2 separate regions of the Homo sapiens genome follow, and region 2 is linked to region 1. The links are contacts of gene promoters, found by promoter capture Hi-C in blood cells and fetal thymus (Javierre and others, 2016). All regions are on one chromosome and are shown on one strand. The core of a region is centred on a gene start or on the middle of the fragment in contact, and the rest is flanking DNA. Distances in the headings are between cores, read along the strand shown. Region 1 holds the start of MST1R (macrophage stimulating 1 receptor). Region 2 overlaps RNF123 (ring finger protein 123).

What was found. The method cuts DNA at HindIII sites, captures the fragments that hold promoters and counts their contacts. A CHiCAGO score of 5 or more calls a contact.
Region 2: a fragment that was not itself captured here is called in contact with the fragment with the promoter of MST1R in region 1 in 3 of 17 cell types (endothelial precursors, megakaryocytes and erythroblasts); the score reaches 5.9 in endothelial precursors.

What each region holds. Positions count from the first base shown.
Region 1 is chr3:49,902,615-49,905,131 of GRCh38, reverse strand. It overlaps MST1R (macrophage stimulating 1 receptor), which reads left to right and starts at 1,259. Exons shown (of 20, transcript NM_002447.4): 1 at 1,259-2,517. The coding sequence starts at 1,523. RefSeq lists enhancers at 214-886, 875-924, 1,561-2,234, 2,235-2,517 and a silencer at 1,115-1,334. The HindIII fragment of the contact is 26,972 bases long and covers 1-2,517 here.
Region 2 is chr3:49,701,171-49,703,687 of GRCh38, reverse strand. RNF123 (ring finger protein 123) reads right to left here. Exons shown (of 39, transcript NM_022064.5): 16 at 2,080-2,197; 17 at 1,778-1,877; 18 at 1,544-1,605; 19 at 1,283-1,354; 20 at 935-1,055; 21 at 160-261. Among named protein-coding and RNA genes, the nearest start is that of RNF123, 13 kb to the right of the region's middle. RefSeq lists a silencer at 1-132. The HindIII fragment of the contact is 173 bases long and covers 1,177-1,349 here.

The DNA of each region.
Region 1 (2,517 bases), core at 10-2,509:
TGTTATGTTGCCCAGGCTGGTCTTGAACTCCTAACCTCAAGCAATCCTCCTGCCTTGGCCCCTCAAAGGAGTGCTAGGATTACAGGCATGAGCCACGGTGCCCAGCCCAGAACTACATTCTCATTGAAGAGAATAAGATCCAGCAAGGCCTACAGAGCATGTTGGAAGTGTCCTGAGAGCCAAAGCCCATGATTCCTCCATATCAGGGGGGCACTGGGTAGAGCCAGGAAGGAAGGGGGAGTCCCCAAGGCCCATACTGTGGACCCCATTATACAGCTTCCATATACTGAGGCTGCAGAGGAGGTATGGGCCTCCACTTACGTGCCTCTCTGACTCTGAGGTCCAGTCAGCAAGGCCAGATCCCATCCTAAGACCCTTATGGCCCTGGGAGAGCAGGGCATAACACACCTTCCTCTGACACCATCTTGTCGCTGATAGCTCAGGAGAAGCACATGGAAGAATGGTCCCGGCCGGGCGCGGTGGCTTACGCCTGTAATCCCAACAGTTTGGGAGGCTGAGGCGGGCGGATCACCTGAGGTCAGGAGTTTGAGACCAGCCTGGCCAACACTGTGAATCCTGTCTCTACTAAAAATACAAAATTAGCCGGGTGTGGTGGTGCGCGCCTGTAATCCCAGCTATTCAGGAGGTTGAGACAGGAGGAGGTTGAGGCTGGAGAATCGCTTGAACCTGGGAGGCGGAGTTTGCAGTGAGCCGAGATCGCGCCACTGCAATCCAGCTTGGGCCACAGAGCAAGACTCCTTCTCAAAAAAAAAAAAGGACAGTCCTTTCCCACAAAGGGTGGCGCCCCATAACATCTCTTGTAAGTGCCCCACATCTCCCCTCTGGTCTTCCACACAATCCTGGTCTCTGTTCTCCACATGGTGGGCCCCCAGGCCACCTCTGGGCACCAGCCACTGAGGGTGTTGCTACTAAGTGCAAACTAGTTCCACCGCAAGCAAAGAGCCCAGTGTCCTGCCCCCCTTCTCGCTGCGAACCAGTCGGTAGTGGGGGGATGGGATGGGACGGCTCAGACTGGCTCACCTCTCTCCAGGCCACACCATGCACATCCACCCACAGGCCGCTGAGAAAAAGGCGCCAAGACGCCAGGTGAAGGTACAGGAGCCAGGCCTCCAAGGGCCGGAAGAGTCGGATGGGCGGAGGGCCTGGGCTAGGCCAAGCCTTCCTCGCGGCCCCGCCCCCACGGCCCGACTCCGCCCGCCCAGCCCGGCGCCCTCGGGTCGGCTGAGCGCTAAGCGCCAGTGTACAGCGGCGGCTGGGGCGGCAGGTGAGGCGGCTGGGGCGTTGCTGTCGTGCGTCCGCAGGCGTCAGGTGCTCAGACCCGAGGGCCGGGAAGGGATTTGGGTTTCACAGGAACCTGGGGCGGGGGTCCGCTATCTTGGGGCTGTCGGGACCGCTGCTTAAATTTGGCCCAGTCCAGACCTCGAGTCGGGCCCCCAGCCAGGCCCACGCCCAGGTCCAGGCCCAGGCCGGTAGGGATCCTCTAGGGTCCCAGCTCGCCTCGATGGAGCTCCTCCCGCCGCTGCCTCAGTCCTTCCTGTTGCTGCTGCTGTTGCCTGCCAAGCCCGCGGCGGGCGAGGACTGGCAGTGCCCGCGCACCCCCTACGCGGCCTCTCGCGACTTTGACGTGAAGTACGTGGTGCCCAGCTTCTCCGCCGGAGGCCTGGTACAGGCCATGGTGACCTACGAGGGCGACAGAAATGAGAGTGCTGTGTTTGTAGCCATACGCAATCGCCTGCATGTGCTTGGGCCTGACCTGAAGTCTGTCCAGAGCCTGGCCACGGGCCCTGCTGGAGACCCTGGCTGCCAGACGTGTGCAGCCTGTGGCCCAGGACCCCACGGCCCTCCCGGTGACACAGACACAAAGGTGCTGGTGCTGGATCCCGCGCTGCCTGCGCTGGTCAGTTGTGGCTCCAGCCTGCAGGGCCGCTGCTTCCTGCATGACCTAGAGCCCCAAGGGACAGCCGTGCATCTGGCAGCGCCAGCCTGCCTCTTCTCAGCCCACCATAACCGGCCCGATGACTGCCCCGACTGTGTGGCCAGCCCATTGGGCACCCGTGTAACTGTGGTTGAGCAAGGCCAGGCCTCCTATTTCTACGTGGCATCCTCACTGGACGCAGCCGTGGCTGCCAGCTTCAGCCCACGCTCAGTGTCTATCAGGCGTCTCAAGGCTGACGCCTCGGGATTCGCACCGGGCTTTGTGGCGTTGTCAGTGCTGCCCAAGCATCTTGTCTCCTACAGTATTGAATACGTGCACAGCTTCCACACGGGAGCCTTCGTATACTTCCTGACTGTACAGCCGGCCAGCGTGACAGATGATCCTAGTGCCCTGCACACACGCCTGGCACGGCTTAGCGCCACTGAGCCAGAGTTGGGTGACTATCGGGAGCTGGTCCTCGACTGCAGATTTGCTCCAAAACGCAGGCGCCGGGGGGCCCCAGAAGGCGGACAGCCCTACCCTGTGCTGCGGGTGGCCCACTCCGCTCCAGTGGGTGCCCA
Region 2 (2,517 bases), core at 14-2,513, 200 kb after region 1:
GTAGGGCAGGCAGATCAGTGTCTCCCTGCCTGAGTGGGTGGAAAGACTTGGGCACCCTCTGGTGGCCATAGGATGGCTCAGCATCCACAGCAGAGCAGGCTCAGGGACAGTCCCCCACCTGGCCCCAGAACTGCTCCCGGCCCACAGGCCTGTACACACCTTTGAGGGTCTTCCGCAGGTGCGAGAGGAGGCCCCCCAGGCGCTGCAGGTCAAAGTAGTCCACCTTGCCATTATAGAAGACCTGGGGCGGGATGTAGGCCTCTGCGAGGAATTGAGGAGGCTAGGCCAGTGGTCACGGCCCAGTAGGAAGACCCTCCCCACAGCCCTCCCCTCCAATCTGGCCTAGCACAGCCTGGGAATTCTGGCTTTGGCCACTCACCCATCCAGGCAGACAGAGAAACTGTCTCCTGGACCAAGAAACAGACCTCCCCTACCTCTTCTCCACCCCTGCCATTTCAGGTCAGAGCCAGCAGCTGCATAACTTGGGGTGATGGGGGTACTCATGGCAGCCGTTCACTCAGGAGAAGCAGAGAGGCCCAGCCCCAGTCCTGTGGGATATCCCCCAATCCAGGGCAGGTAAGGCTCCCACTGACCCTTGGGGACTCAAACACAGGGCCCCCCAGCACCCACCCAAGGCAGCCCTATAAAGGACGCACAGAGAAATGGGGGGGCAAGGACGGAAGAAAAGAGCCCACAATGGTAGGAGCCCGTGGGACAATCAGAGCAAACACAGGATCGGCAGGCCTGCGGTGCAGGGCTCCTGCTGCCCCAGTGGAGAAGCCGCCTGTGGCTGGGTAGGACTCAACCAGGCAGGATGCCGGGGACAACTCCCCACAGCCCACAGCCTCAGCTCAGCACTCTGCACTAACATTAGGGGCTGCCCTACGCCTGGCTCTGTCCAGCCTCACTGACCTGGGACCCCGGTGCCACTCACCCTCACTGAAGGAAGCATGAGGATTGGAAGCCTTGTATTCATCCCAATAGTAGCGCAGGGCAGAGATCAGCCGGTGTAAGAAGCAGACCATGTACTCAGGGGGGCAGAGCATGGGCATGTTCTGTGGACACCAGGCATGAAACATGCATTGGTGCCAGTCCAGTGCCTTGCCCATTCCTCATCCAAGGCCCTGCCTGAGGGTCGAGGGTTAAGCAGGGAGGGAAAAGCAGCAGAGAAAAGCTTGGGGCTAGGCAGGGATGAGGCAGTCCGAGAAGTGCCAGGTGCTGAGGGCATGGCATGTGTAGTGCAGCCGGGGATCCACAGTGGGCTGGCCTGGAGGACACCTACCCCCCGGCCACTGGCGTTCTCCTGCAGAAACTTGCGAAACTTGGTCAGGAAGATATACCTAGAAGCTTCACCCTTTGAGAGAGGGAAAAGTGAGGCTGTGCTGAGCTGAGAATGCAGGCCCAGACTGGGCTGGCTCAGTGCTGCACCTTCCCCCAGCCCCTGCCATGGGAACCAAACCCAGTTCCCACCCTCTGGGTCTTAAGGCCCAGTGCAGCATCCCTCCCCACAGGGCCCCACCCAGGGCTCCTGGGAGTCACTCACCCCATTGTCATCTTTATTGTCCAGCAGCAGCTTCAGGATCTGGACCTGTAGTTCTTCCACCACTGGAGGTCAGGTGAGGAACATGGCCCTCAGGCTCCAGGAGATGGGGGGCAGGTTTGGGCCAGGGCTCCACCACCAGGGTTCCCCAAGTCCCACCTAGACATGGGCACCTCCAAGCACCCTCATGTGCACACACACACCTCCCACCCTACCCCGTGCCCAAGGCGGGCTGACCTTCGATGCGCTTCCTGAGCCGCTGACAGCCCCGTTCGTAGGCTCGCCGCCGCAGCCGCTCCTCTGCGGTCTCCTCCTTCATCTCCGTGCTCTCTTTGCCCTAGGCAGGGGTAGCAGGTGGAATACAGCAGGGTCACCTGGGACCTAGCCAGGCCTCCTTCACTCAGAACACCCACACTCCATCTCCAGGGCTTCAGGGACCAGGGCCAGTGAAAAGGCCTCATGCTAGATGCCCAGTGGCCAGATGCCCAGGCCAGGGGCCTTGCCATGACCTCTGCCCATCCCACTTGGGGTGCACTCACCTCCCTACTGGAGCAGTGGGGCCACCAGGTGGTGGGAATGAGCTCCTGCAGGCCGGCCTCCTCCACACGCAGGGGGCTCTTGATGTAAAAGAAGACGACGGAGCGGAGCACGTCGAAGCTGGCGGGTGTCAAGGCAGGGCTCTGCTTGCCAAAGGGCACTCTGCACACCCTCAAGAGTCCTTCCCCAGGAGCCCATCCCTGGATGTGCCTACCACAGCTCTCCCACCACCACAGGGGCATGTTGCTGCTATGTGTCTGACCCCCAGGGCATGCTCCCTGACAAAAAGCTGTGGTGGTTAAGCCCACCAGCTCCAGTACCCAGCAGGTGCACGATAAGGGCTTGTCACAGGAACAGATGACTGTGGGACAAGCTGGAGAGAGGGACTGGTGGCCTTTTCTCAGGCCCCAACTCTGACCTCTGTGTCTCCCAGCTTTGTG